2 separate regions of the Homo sapiens genome follow, and region 2 is linked to region 1. The links are contacts of gene promoters, found by promoter capture Hi-C in human tissues and cell types (Jung and others, 2019). All regions are on one chromosome and are shown on one strand. Each heading gives the region's core, a stretch centred on a gene start or on the middle of the fragment in contact. The rest is flanking DNA. Distances are from core to core; before and after follow the strand shown. Region 1 holds the start of RCVRN (recoverin). Region 2 overlaps GAS7 (growth arrest specific 7).

Evidence for each region. The method cuts DNA at HindIII sites, captures the fragments that hold promoters and counts their contacts. A contact is called where the count stands out against the background at its distance.
Region 2: a contact is called between a fragment that was not itself captured here and the fragment with the promoter of RCVRN in region 1, in 3 of the 25 tissues and cell types used here (dorsolateral prefrontal cortex, spleen and thymus).

What each region holds. Positions count from the first base shown.
Region 1 is chr17:9,900,787-9,907,900 of GRCh38, forward strand. It overlaps RCVRN (recoverin), which reads right to left and starts at 4,485. Exons shown (of 3, transcript NM_002903.3): 1 at 4,014-4,485; 2 at 203-314. The coding sequence starts at 4,394. The HindIII fragment of the contact is 14,018 bases long and covers 1-7,114 here.
Region 2 is chr17:10,171,995-10,179,108 of GRCh38, forward strand. The region is part of intron 1 of GAS7 (growth arrest specific 7); the gene reads right to left. Among named protein-coding and RNA genes, the nearest start is that of GAS7, 23 kb to the right of the region's middle. RefSeq lists enhancers at 1-481, 1,309-2,134. The HindIII fragment of the contact is 9,101 bases long and covers 1-7,114 here.

The DNA.
Region 1 (7,114 bases), core at 3,235-5,734:
CACAGAAAACAGTTTTGGCTCCTGCTCACCCTTAAGGCCATTCCCCTGTCCAACCCTTCAAACAGCTCTGAAAATGCACAATGGAATGAGGTGTCCCCCATCCTGCCTGGACACTGTGACTCAGAAGAATAAATCTTGTTGGGATTTCCAGGAAACAGCCCATGGTTGAAAAATCAAAGGCAATGAAGGAAAAGGAATTCACCATCATCATTCTTTCCAAAGTACTTCCAGATCTTCTCGGCTCGCTTTTCCGGCGTGTTTTCATCGTCTGGAAGGAGCTTCACGTCCTCGGGAGTGATCATTTTGAAAATAGCCTGTACCAAACAGAAAGAAAGAACTCGTTAGGAGGAACTTTAAGGGGCTGGCAACCCTGGAAAATCCACATCTTACACTGTACACAAAAATCTACTCAAAATGGATTAAAGACTTAAACATAAGACCTCAGACCGTCAAACTGCTGGAGGAAAACGTAGGGGAAAAGCTTCTTGGCACTGGTCTTGACGATAATTTTTTGGATATGACACCAAAAGCAAAGGCAACATAAACCAGAATAAACAAGCAGGATAGCATCACACTAAAGAGCTTCTCCATGTCAGAGGAAACAATGAACAAAATCAAAATGTAACTTATGGAATGGGAGAAAACATTCGCAAACCATTTGCGTTCTGCCTCCCCGGAGACACCTGTGAGCAGGTCAGGCAGGGGCAATAATGGCTGTGAAATTATCCTGGAGGGAAGGTCGACAGCTTTGAGAAGTTTCCCTTCAGCCCCCTGGTGCTGGATAAAGGAGTAAAGAGGCCAAAGCCACAGCCCAGGGCAGCAGCGTCGCTGGCAGCACTCAAAGCCCTGAGCTGGACGCCAGTGTAGGTGGCTCCTACACTCCTATCCATCTGTGCAGGGCCTTGGGCACCATGTGCAGGTGTGCCAGCTAGAAGCTGGCAGTGAGTGCCTGCCCACCCCACTTCCAACACGGAGGGACAGACCTCCAGAGCCTCAGGAAAGACTGCAAAAATAATCAAATCCTCACCCTGGGCCCAGGAAGGTTATATGGTTTTCCCACAGCAACACTGCTAGTTGGAGTCAGAGCTGGGACTAGAACCCTTCACTTTTAACTCCCTCAGTCAGTGCTCTGCCCATGAACTTGTAATCTGGTGAATAGCAGAGCCTTCTGCCACCTTGCACAGCCCCAGCCATTGATGGAGTCTCCCTCCCTCCCTTTCCTTTCTTCTTTCTTCCTTTCTCTCCTCCTTTCCTTCTCCTCCCTCCCTTCCTTCTCTCCTTCCCCTTGCTTCCCCCTCTTTCCTTCCTGACTCCTACCTTCCCTCTCTCCCTCCCTCATTTCCCCCTCCTCCCTTTCCTCCTCCTTTTATTCAATGAGTATCAATTTGTAGGCTTCTGCTGGGCCCTGCATTGTTTATGCCACTCTGAAGACTTAGTCCCTGTCCCAGGCCACCCAGAGACCCCACAGCCAATCCGAGGGAGCTTTCTCTGCAGGCTGTGCCAAGATAACAATGAGAGAGACACATGCCTGCCAGAATGGGAGGCCCGAGCTGAGCATTGAGGATAAGCCCATGGACCACAAGCTGCATGCTCTGCTGTTTTATTTATGATTTCTCCTAATAACTGTGGAAGATTTTTGTGCATTTGTCATCATGCAAATGAAAGCATGATTGCCAATGCACACAAAGTTATTAACATCTAAACAATAGTCTCTACTAACAGGAATGGAATTAGAAGAATAAGGTAAGTGGCAGGGGCAGGGGGACTGAAAAAGAATAAATTAAAAAAAAATCAAATGAAGGAAATTAGAACTGGTATAATAGGAAAGAAATGGAAACAACCTAATGTCCAAAAACATAGGAATGTTCAATAATTTCCACATTTCCATAAGCCAGAATTCCAAGCAGCTATTAAAAGAGTTTTGGAAGAGGTTGGGTGCGGAAGCTCACGCCTGTAATCCCAGCACTTTGGGAGGCCGAGGCGGGCAGATCACCTGAGGTCAGGAGTTCGAGACCAGCCTGGCCAACATGGTGAAACCCCGTCTCTACTAAAATACAAAAATTAGCTGGGCAGGTGCCTGTAATCCCAGCTACTCGTGAGGCTGAGGCAGGAGAATTGCTCAAACCCAGGAGGGGGAGGTTGCAGTGAGCTGAGATCACGCCACTGCACTCCAGCCTGGGCGACAAGAGCAAAACTCTGTCTGAAGAAAAAAAAAAAGTGTTTTGGAAGAATATGTAATGATATGGAAAGCACTCATGATAAAAGAGTAACTGAAAAATGTATGATAAAAAATCGTATGTGAATATGTCATAGCTTTAACATTATTTAAAATTATATAGGTAAAAGACTGAAAAGGTATATACTGATATACTAAGAAAAGTTTTCCCTGGATGTTGGAATTAGAGGCAATTGTTAGTCTCTTTTGCCTAGGTTTCTAAATTTCATGAGTTACTTTTATATCAGATAAACCATTTTCAAGACACCTACGAGGTTAGTGGAAAAGTAATTATGGTTTTTGCCATTACTTTCACAACAAAGGATCTGACAGGAGGACAGTATGGACAGGGGAGAAGGCGTGTTGGGAACCATATGGAAGCCTGTGCGCCTCACAGGGAAACTGTCAGGAGCCGGGGAGCCACGCCGCGCGTGGGAAGCGGGGGCTCATGCGTGGTGCCATGATCCGCCCCGCGCTGGGGAGAACATGAGGACTAGAACTCAGAGTTCATGCCCCCAACTTTGACCTCTTTCTACTTTATATTAGAAGCATATTGTGTGTTTAGAATGAACAGTGATTCAACTTGAATGTGTACTGCTGAAAATTTCAAAGGACATTTTAATAAAGGAAGGAAGAAACAAAGGATGGAGAGAAAGAAAAAATGTAAATATAGTCACGTGTCGCTCAGAGACAGGAATACATTCCGAGAAACACATCTTAAGGCAACTTCTATGTGGGAACATCATAGAGCATCCTTGCACGAACACAGATGGTAGAGCCGACTACATCCCTGAGCTCCATGGTCCAGCCTTTTGCTCCTAGGCTACAAACCTGTGCAGCACGTGACTGTCCTGAATGTTGCAGGCAGTTGTCACACGATGGTAAGTATTTGTGCATCTAAACATAGCTAAACATAGAAATCATGCAGTAAAAATACAGTATAAAGATAAAAAATGGGCCGGGCACAGTGGCTCATGCCTGTAAATCCCAGCACTTTGGGAGGCTGAGGCTGGCGGATCGCTGGAGGTCGGGAGTTTGAGACCAGCCTGACCAACATGGTGAAACCCCGTCTCTACTAAAAATACAAAAATTAGCTAGGCATAGTGGTGCACACCTGTAATCCCAGCTACTCGGGAGGCTGAGACAGGAGAATTGCTTGAACTCGGGAGGCAGAGGTTGCAGTGAGCCAAGATCGCACTATTGCACTCCAGCTCTGGGCTACAGAGTGAGACTCCATCTCAAAAAAATAAAAAATAAAAAACCAAGATACAAAATGGTAGACCTGTCTAGGGCACTCACCATGAGTGGAGCTTGCAGGACTGGGAGTTGCTCTGGGTGAGTCAGTGAGTGAGTAGTGAGTGAATGTGAAGAACTAGGACATTACCGTACACAACTACAGACTTTACGGATACACTTAGGCTACACTAAATGCATTTGAAAAATAAAGTAACTGTGCTATGACGTCACTAGGCAGTAGGAATTTTTCAGCTCCATTACAATCTTATGGGACCACAGTGGTCTATATCGTCCGTTGTTGACCCAAACATCGTGAAGCCAAGCATAACATGGCTGTATTAGGAAACACTCAGATTCTGCTCCGGGAAGACAACGAAGCTGTGGGCAAGTGCCCACCCCTCTATCAATATCAGCATCTCGGAGCACCACGCTCTCAGAGCCAGTGGCCCGCATCCCCCGCTCCACCCACAGATCCACTCCCTCTGCAGCAGCTGCAGCAGGGGACCCCCAGCCCGGAGCGACCCCGGCACCGCCCAGCCAGAAGGGGAGAGGGGAGACTGACCATGACGATCTCCAGCACTTCATTCTTGCTGATGGTCCCGTTACCGTCCACGTCGTAGAGGGAGAAGGCCCACTCCAGCTTCTGGTTGGTCTTGCCCGCGGTGGTCATGTGCAGGGCGATGACGTACTCCTTGAAGTCCAGGGTGCCGTCGAGGTTGGAATCGAAGCTGCGGAACACATGCTGGGCGTAGGCCTTGGGGTCGGTGTCGGGGAAGAACTTGGCGTAGATGCTCTGGAACTGCTGCTGGGTGATGCGGCCGGTGGGACAGTCCTTCAGGAAGGACTGGTACCAGGAGCACAGCTCCTCCTCCGAGAACTTGGTGTTCAGCTGCAGCTCCTCCAGGATCTCCTTGGACAGGGCCCCACTTTTGCTGTTCCCCATGAGTGAGGAAGAGTGGGCAGCGGCTGGGGAGTCGCTGGGTGGGTGGGACGTGCGTGGTCCCCTGGCCGCAGGCTGGGCTCAAGGCTGGTGTGAGCTGAAGACCGAGATGCTGGTGGCTTAGGAGGATTTGCGACCAGTTCTTCGCAATCCTTGAAGGGAGGAGGGGCCCAGGAGCTTTGTGGAGGGCGGGAGCGGTGGGGGGGGGTGCTCCCAGAACCCTAGTGAGATTAAAATAAAGAGCCCAGGGCAGGCAGGCAATTCATCTCGGCCTCCCGGGACGATACTAGAACAGGACAGGAGGTTGGAACCCTCAGAGCTGGGGCCTCCGGCACCCCCAGCCCCAGCCCTCTAACAGCAGCCATGTTCCCTGTTTCTCTTCCTCACTAACTCTGAGCATCTCGGGGCGGGGCTGGCATCTCATATCAAGCCCTAGAATGCAATGGTTAGGAGCACAGACTCTGGGGCCAGCATGGGTTCAAGTCCCAGCTTGGCTACTTAACTAGCTGTGTGGCCCCAGGCTTGTTTCTTCACCTCTTTCCACCTGGGACACTCTTCTAAACCTTCACTGCAGTCATGTCTCTGCTTAAATGTCACCTGCTCAGCCAGGCCTATACTGACCCTCTATCTATAATAGCACAACCCCCACCATCATCGGCACGCTGCATGTCCCCTCACCGGAATGAAAGCTCCGTGAAGGATGGGATTTTGTCTGTGTTGTTCCCGGATGCATTTCCATTGCCAGAACCTGATAGGCTTGGGCCCCCAGCAAGTCTTTCTTGAATAAATGGGCATCATAGCATCTACCACACTGTCATTGTGAGGCTGATGTGAGTCAATATGTCTGACACACTTAGAAACTGGCACATGGCTAATGCTAAACACTCGTTTTGTTATTGTCCATCAGTCACAGGGAGTGAAGGTGAACTGCCTGAAGGGACCAGCAGGGGGCAGCCAGGCCTGTGTCACCTCGGGAAGGGGCTGCCAGAGAACGTGGTCACATGGGATGGTGAGATTTTTGGGTTTTTTTAAATTATTCAAGAGAAATCCAAAAATCAGAATTTTTCTTGCAATTTCCACACTTTTCAACTTTGGCAATTAATTCAAAATTTTAATGGTGGCTCACGTCTGTAATCCCAGCACTTTGGGAGACTGAGTGGGGAGATTACAAGGTTAGGAGTTCGAGACCAGCCTGGCCAACATGGTGAAACCCTGTCTCTACTAAAAATACAAAAAATTAGCCGGGCATGGTGGCAGGTGACTGTAATCCCAGCTACTTGGGAGGCTGAGGCTGGAGAATCGCTTGAACCCGGGAGGCAGAGGTTGCAGTGAGCCGAGATTGCACCATTGCACTCCAGCCTGGGTGACAAGTGTGAGACTCCATCTCAAAAAAACAAAACAAAAACAAAAACAAAAACAAAACAAAACATGGTGTGGGCCAAACACAATCTATCTGTGGGTCCATGGCAGGCTGCAGGGTGTCCGTCTGCAGTGGACTTGGAGTGAGCAGGCAAGAAAACGTGTTTGCTGAGTGAATGGATAAATAACTGAGTGGTCAGAGACGGAGCTGTGCAAAGGCAGGCTTCGCGTCTGTGCAGCTCAGCGGGGAGTATCAAGCACGAGGAAGCAACCTAGTGAGGACGCTGCACACCTGGATTCTTGTCACCCAGAAGGAAGGGAGGGTGGGCGTGCACTTTCCTTAGCGGAGCGCAGTGCTCGAGGGGACACACTCAGAACCCCAGCCTTGCCACCGTGGATGGAGAGTTGTCTCTTTTTGCCCTGGGGTGAGAATGATGAAGAATAAACCCCACGGTCTCCAGGCAGGTAAACTGGTTTTTTTTTAGACGGAGTCTCCCTCTGTCACTTAGGCTGGGCACGATCTTGGCTCACTGCAACCTCCGCCTCCTGGTTTCAAGCAATTCTCCTGTCTCAGTCCCCTGAGAAGCTGGGACTACAGGTGTCTGCCACCACGCCCAGCTAATTTTTTTTTGGTATTTTTAGTAGAGTCGAGGTTTCACCATATTGGTCAGGCTGGTCTCGTAAACTCCTGACCTCAGGTGATCCGCCCGCCTTGCATCTCAAAGTGTAAAGTGGGGATTTTAGCCTACTTACTAACAGGCTAGTGGCAGCAGAAGGTAGGTCCCTGCTGCTGGGAGAAAGCCACCTGCCAGGCCCACCTCATGTCACTCTGGAAGGACCGAGAGGTTCAGGCACCAAGGGGCAGACTCATCCCTCCCAGCCGCTCTGCCCAGTACAGTTTCAGAGATTTCTCAGGAAACCTGCATATTGGGGTGTGTGTGTGAACTTTCTAATTTTTTTCCATCACTTTGTGAGTTTTTTTTTTTTTGTTTGTTTGTTTTTTTTGTTTTTTTTTTTTTAAGACAGAGCCTCATTCTGCGCCCAGGCTGGAGTGCAATGGCACGATCTCGGCTCACTGCAACCTCTGCCTCCCAGGTTCAAGCGATTTTCCTGCCTCAGCCTCCCAAGTAGCTGGGATTACAGGCGCTCACCACCATGCCCAGCTAATTTTTGTGTTTTTAGCAGAGATGGGATTTCACCTTGTTGGTCAGGCCGGTCTCGATCCCCTGACCTCATGATCTGCCTGCTTTGGCCTCCCCAAGTGCTGGGATTACAGGCATGAGCCACTGCGCCCAGTGAGAATATTACTTCTGAATAGGAGTCCTTCCTCTCCTAGGCTTTCACCATCCTGTAGCGTGCATTTA
Region 2 (7,114 bases), core at 2,917-5,416, 270 kb after region 1:
TTCAGCTGGGAAAACAGCACACACAGGACAGCGGATGATCTAGCATTCGCAAAAGCAACATACTAAGAAAAGCATACACCTCCATCTGCTGCTTTCCCCTAAGTGTCCCTCGGGTCTGCTTGTTTGGATTCTAATATCTGCCTAACTACCCATCAATCTGGCTACTTCCTGGACTGCAAAAGACCTCAAAGCTATGTGTAAAAGAAGTCTCTAAATCTAAGCCAGATAGGATGGCCTGCCATGGCAGCCCTCATTCCACTCCTCAGGTCCAGTCCTGGTTGACTTCACCTCATCACCCACCAGCCAGTGCAGCTAACCTCCTTCCTCTGCCGCATGTCCGGCCCTGCCCAAGGATTCCCCAGGGGGCAGCCAATCATCTTGTTCACCTCCAGCACAGCACTGTGCATAACACTCTGTATTGCTCTCAACTTTGCCCCCAGGCCAGCTGAAAGCAGAGGAAAGAAGAAAGGAAAACAGAATTCAAATGGAGCAATTAGCAAAAGGAGAAATGAGGAAGCAGATTAAAAAAAAAGAAGAAGAAAAAAAAAGAAACAGAAAGGGAGACAATCAAAGAAAAAATGAGGAACATACAGAACTATCACTTGACATCTGACTTTATAGCTTAGGAAGGGCTTAACCTCACATTCTGTGGCTTGCGCCTCTTACAACATTCTGCAGGGCTGAGTAAGCAAGGCAGGGAATTTTACACCCATTTAGGAAATGAGCAAACTAAGGCTTGACAGACTTTAATGAAGCGCTTTGTAGCCAGAGCCCCTCACTGCCTACCTTCTTATTTCTCAAGTGCCTTTTCCATTGCCAGTAACCCATGCAGTCTCAACAAAAGACTAAAGATTCAGCATCTGGAGGCAGAACTGAAGACCAGAAAAAGAAGTGGATGGTGTTATTCACAACAGCCAAAACATGGGAACTAGCCAAGTGTCCATCAACTGATGGATGGATAAACAAATGTGGTATATCCATGCAATGGAGTATTATTCAGTCATGAAAAGCAATGAAGTACTGATACACGTCACTACGCAAATGAACCCTGAAGACATCATGTCAACGGAAATAAACCAAATACGAAGTCCACCCATTCTGATTCCATTTCTGTGAAACACCTAGAATAGGCAGATGCATAGAACCAGAAAACAGATGAGTGGTCGCCTGATGCTGGGGGCGGGCGAAGGGAGGAGAATGGGGAGTGGCTGCTTAATGAGTATGGGTTACTTTCGGGATGATGAAACTTCTGGAACTGGATAATGGTGGTGGCTGTATAACACTGTGAATGTACCAAATGCCACTGAACATTAAAATGGTGAATTTCATGTTATGTGAATTTTAACACAACTTTTTTTAAAAGTAGAAGGGGAGGCGGGGAAGAGGGAGAGAAAAAAAATGAAGAGAAGGAGGAATGATTCCTAGGTAAGTAATGAGTTTCCCGAAATCAGGGACCCGAGGAGCTCTGAGGTATAAAAAGAGACCCTCTCTCGGCCAGGCGCGGTGGCTCACGCCTATAATTCCAGCACTTTGGTAGGCAGAGATGGGCGGATCACAAGGTCAGGAGATCAAGACCATCCTGGCTAACACGGTGAAACCCCGTCTCTACTAAAAATACAAAAAATTAGCCGGGTGTGGCAGCGGGTGCCAGTAGTCCCAGCTACTGGGGAGGCTGAGGCAAGAGAATGGCGTGAATGCGGGAGGGGGAGCTTGTAGTGAGCCGAGATCGTGCCACTGCACTGCAGCCTGGGGGACAGAGCTAGACTCCGTCTCAAAAAAAAAAGAAAAAAAAAGAGACCCTCTCTCCTTTTATACTGAGGAGGTAACATAATGCTGGGTTTGCCCTTCATGGGGGTGGGAGGTGGCTGCAGACCCAAAGAACCAGCAGCAGCAGCCTGGAAAGGGAACAGAGCCATGAGCACAGGGAGACGGTGGAGGGATGAAGCTGACATCTTCACAGGAAAACCAGCTGATCTCTCCCTGAAGATCTCCTTGGTGTGTACTCACCTGTCCTTTATACTGGCTGAACTGTTCATTCCCACATATGAATAAGTGAATAACATGAGTAAGTGCCCAACCCTGGGCCAGGCACTGTCATAGGCGTTTCAGGACACTAATGATGGAATCCCTGGCCTCATTAAGCAAACCCTCTGGAGGGTGACAACGTTCAAACTCATAGGCTGCTAGGACTTAGTGTAATATAGTCTGTGGCTCAATTCACCCAGTGTAAACAAAAGCTAATAAAGGAATCTTTCTTCTCTGATTTTTAACACATGTTAATCACATTTGGGGACTGAGTAGAGATTAGAGGGATATAGGGGATGCAGTCTGTAGAACAAACAGCAACTCACCTTGCAGGGTGAGCACTAAACAGAGACCTGGATGCAGAAAACCAGCTATTTTAATTAAAAATTCTGGCCAGGCGCGGTGGCTCACATCTATAATCCCAGCACTCTGGGAGGCCGAGACGGGCGGATCACGAGGTCAGGAGATGGAGACCATCCTGGCTAACATGGTGAAACCCCGTCTCTACTAAAAATACAAAAAATTAGCCGGGCGCAGTGGCGGGCGCCTGTAGTCCCAGCTACTCGGGAGGCCGAGGCAGGAGAATGGCGTGAACCCAGGAGGCGGAGCTTGCAGTGAGCTGAGATCGCACCACTGCACTCCAGCCTGGGCGGCAGAGCGAGACTCCGTATCAAAAAAAATAATTAAAAAAAATAAAAAACAATTCTGGATTGAAGCCCAGAGTGAGGAATTTGACTTCAGGCCCCAGGTTCAGACAGAATTCTTCCAAAAGACACGTGCCAGTGCCTTCACGGGCTTTGACCTGATGCAGCTCTGCCCTCATGCAGCTCACATTCCTTTCTCTGAGACAGGGTCTCACTCTGTCACCCAGGCTGGAGTGCAGTGGCACAATCACAGCTCACTGCAGCCTCGGCCTCCTGGACTCAAGCGATACTCCCACATTAGACTTCCGAGTAGCTGGGACCACACGTGCATGCCACCACGCCTGGCTAATTTTTTATTTTCTATAGAGATGGGGGTCTCACTATGTTGCCCAGGCTGGTCTCGAAATCCTGGGCTCAAGTGATGCTCCTGCCTCGGCCTCCCAAAGTGTTGGGATTATGGGCACGAGCCACCACGCGCGGCCTGGAGTTCACATTCTAATGATAATAAGGTAAAGAAGTGAACTATATAACCCTTCAGCTAGGAATACATGTTAGTAAGAAAAATGGGACAAGCAAACTGTCCCTAGGTCCCTATGTTTTTTCAAGGTTTTGATCCCATGTGGAACTATGTAAATAAGTTGCCTACCCAAGCCCAGGGTAAGGGGCTTGTGTGAGTTTGCTGGGGCTGCCACAAAAAAGAATCATAGACTGGGTGGCTTAAACCACTGAAATTTATTTCCTCACAGTTCTAGAAGCTGGGAATCCAAGCTCAAGGTTGCTTGTAAGGCTTCTCCCCACTGGCTTACAAACAGCCGTCTTCTCCCTATGTCTTCACACGGTTTTCCCTCTGTGTGTATCTGTGTCCTCATTTCCCTTTCTTAAAAGGACACCAGTCATACAGGATGAGGGCCCACCCTAATGACCGCATTTTATTTAGTTAGTTAGTTAGTTAGTTAGTTATTTTCCTTGACCTACAACAGTGTGGTCAAAAATTCTTTTTCTTTTTATTTGTACTTTGTAGAGCCAAGGTCTCACCATGTTGCCCAGGCTTGTCTTCAACTCCTGGCCTTAAGTGATCCTCCTGTCTTGGCCTCCCAAAGGGTTAGGATTACAGGCATGAGCTACTACAGCTGGCCATGCATTTTAACTTACCTCTTTAAAGACTCTTTCTCCACATGCAGTCACATTCTGAGGTACTAGGGGTTGGGACTTCAAATACGAGTGGGGAGTGGGTCCAAACTCAGCCCATGGTATTCTTGAGCACTCCCACAGCCCTGACTGTCCCCTGGGGCCCCTCACTGTGCTGGGCACATCCCCGTTATCACTCGGTCTGGTTCCCCACGGACAATGAACCCTCTGATCCTAGGGACCCCTGAGTCCTGTCCACTCCATCTCATTCTCGGCTATATCCCAGGGTTGAGAACACACCTCGAGCCTTAGAGGGGCTTAACTGAAGGCAGGGAAGGATGAAGGAGGCAACAGAGCTCTTACTGCAAATGATTAAAGCTTGTCTGGGCCAAGAATTCCAACAGCTTTCCTAATCGGATAGCAGGGACAGGGAGGAGGTCTTAGGAGGAGGCCTCAGAAGCAACTTCAAAGAGGCCAGAGGAGAAAGGATGACCACAGCAGAGAGGTGAGGGGTTAGACCAAGCCACCTGGTTGAGTCGGGACAGCTGGGTGCAAGAGCTGGGGAGAGACTCCCCCACTCTCCTCCCTGCACAGCGTCTCTTAGCACCGCTTGCATTCATCACCCGTAAACTTCAAATCCCGTACACAGCCACCATCACCTTCAAAATCCTTCCAGTCATCCTCAAAATCCTTCTAGTCACCCTGAATGGGCAGCAGAATGGGTGTCACCACCCTTTTGACAGCTGAAAAAACTGAAGGTCAGAGATCTTACATGAACATTGCAAGGCCAAAGAGCCAATAACTCTGTGGAAGGGGTGTTGGAAGGTACCGTAGTTAAAACCCAGGGCCCTCAGCTACACCCAGCTGTCCCTGCAGCAGCCCTACTGAGAAGGAGATGAGGAGAGAGGACCACTCCAAGCATCCAGCTGCCTTTCACTTGCCAATCCTGGGAGTCCTGGCCTGGGGCTCAATGGCCTTGTTCTCCAGGAGCCAGTGGCCTTCCCTTAATAGTCAGCACTCCAAGATGACCTGGCTATACTCCTTCTAACCTTGGCCGTCCGTGACCCCAAGCTGGTTAAGCCGTGAGCCAAAATCAGACAAGATGTCCCCAGTTCTTAAGGCAAGCTCTCCCTTTATCCTCTTTGATTCACCCATCCAGTCATCAAATACTTACTGAGCCAGACTTCAGAGACACCAAGCACCATGCCAGACCAGAGTAGTTACAAAAGTTTAGGAAGTGGCGTTCCTGGCCCTGCAGAGCTCAGAGTGTAATGGAGGAAACAGTCAAATAAATAAGGCATCGCAGTCCCATGTGGTTGGTGCCATCCCAGCAGGAGATCCCCATGCAAGCCAGCAGAAGAAAGGACTCTGCCTGGGGGAGAGCAAAGGCCACACAGAGGAAGGGGTCCATGGGCTGGATCTTGATAAAAGATCATCATTCCCTCGACAGGGATGAGAAGGGCCTCTAGACAGAAGCTGCAGCCGAGCAAAGGCACAGAGGTGTCAGGTTGCTTCCCGCTCCCCAGGAGAGGGAAAGTAAGGAGGCTGGAGAAGGAGTGAGGCCAGGTGCAGTTTGTACAGGGTCCATATTTGTGCAAGGTCCAGATGAGGAGTGTCTTGACACTTCAAGCAATGGGGAGCCAGTGGAGATCAGGTGTGGAGAGGATGCTGCTGACGCCATGTGTGGGGTCCCTGGCTCGGTGGAAACCCAAGAGATATTTACTAAGGACCAGGTTAATGGAGACTGTGTCTGCTCCTATGGAGGTGTTACCTTCTCACTGCTGCCCTCCAGCCTTCTCAGATGGAGTATAGCCTCTAAGCATGACTGCTGCTCTTCTCCCCAGACCACAAGCCATAGAAAGCCAAGTACAGGTGACTGCATGATTATCAATCATGTCAGCTGCCTGTCTGCACCGTAACCCTTTCCAACTTGGCTGCATCTCACATCAGTCCTCATTTGCAAGAGACTTGCAGCTGTAGCTGAATATATATATAGTCTTGATGATTTGCAGTGAAGCATAATTTACACCTTCTACTGCTTCTCAGAGAAATCATTTCCCCAAGACTAATAATAAAGCAGACCAGCCACCCAGAGTAACAAAGCCCCCCAACTACCTCAACACGCAATTCAGAAACAAACCAGAACACCGGCCGCATTAGGTCAGCACTGGCGCCATTAGGCACCTCCGAGAGCAAAGCTGACAGGCAGGGAAGGAATGTCAGCATTTAGCATCACATAACACTGGGTTTTCAAACTGGGTCCTACAGAGCCGGAGGGATTCCTGGAGGGAGTGATCCAGAGCCTGAGTCACAGTCCCCTGGGAGTGTATGTGGCAGAATGAGCAGCTGCTTTATCCAGGCCCCTGAAGCAAGCACCAGGGCTGGGAGATGGGGGATTCCAGGCAAGCTCAGCTCCCCTGCCTCTCCCATTCAGCAATGCCAAGAAGTATCGCTGGCTTCTTGGACCAGGACGAAGGGCTTAGGCCAGAGATGGTTCTGTGGTGCCCGTGGAATGCTTGGCAATGCCTTGGCAAGTCCATACCAACATCTCCCAAACTCGCCGCCCCCACCCCCACACTCTCTGAATGACTCCACATAGAGGACTCTGCATAGATGAGGAAGGAGTCTGGCTTCATGTCCACTCCGGCTATTTTCTCCCAGGTGAGGCAGAAGAAGCCCATCTGAAATTCTAAACCCTATCAGGATCTGACAGCCACGCCCACCACAGGGCTCCAGAAAACCATACACGGAGCCTGTCTCATACCTCTCCTGTGAACATCCCTAAACCCCAGCTCACTGTCTCTCCCAGCACACATTCTAATCAGCATGCATTAGTAATCTGGCTAGAGGGACAGGCAAATCTTTGAAAGAGCTTCACCACCAACTCAACTCCCCTCCCTCCCCCACCACCTTTTTTTTTTTTTTTTTTTTTTTTTTTTTTTGCTGATGAGCAAAAATTGCCTCCTCTTTTCAAAGCAAGAAGTCATCAGAAACAGGAAGATCTCTGCCCTCTTCCCTGTGTGGGCTGTCACGGCAGACAGCGGAGGGCTTTTCTTTGTTCGCTGGTTAACAGAGGGAATTAGAGAAAAAAGGTGAGCAGAGAGAGCCCTACAACCACCACCTTGGAGGATCCGATTATACGGCCAGGACAGACAGGTGCTGGGGCACAGAAAGAGCTCAAAAACTGTAGTCGACTGGCTGAGAGAACCAATGTCCCCTCTGCCATGTCACAAGACACATCAACTTGAAAACATCTGGCCAGGCACGGTGGCTCATGCCTGTAATCCCAGCAGTTTGCAAGGCTGAGGTGGGCGGAT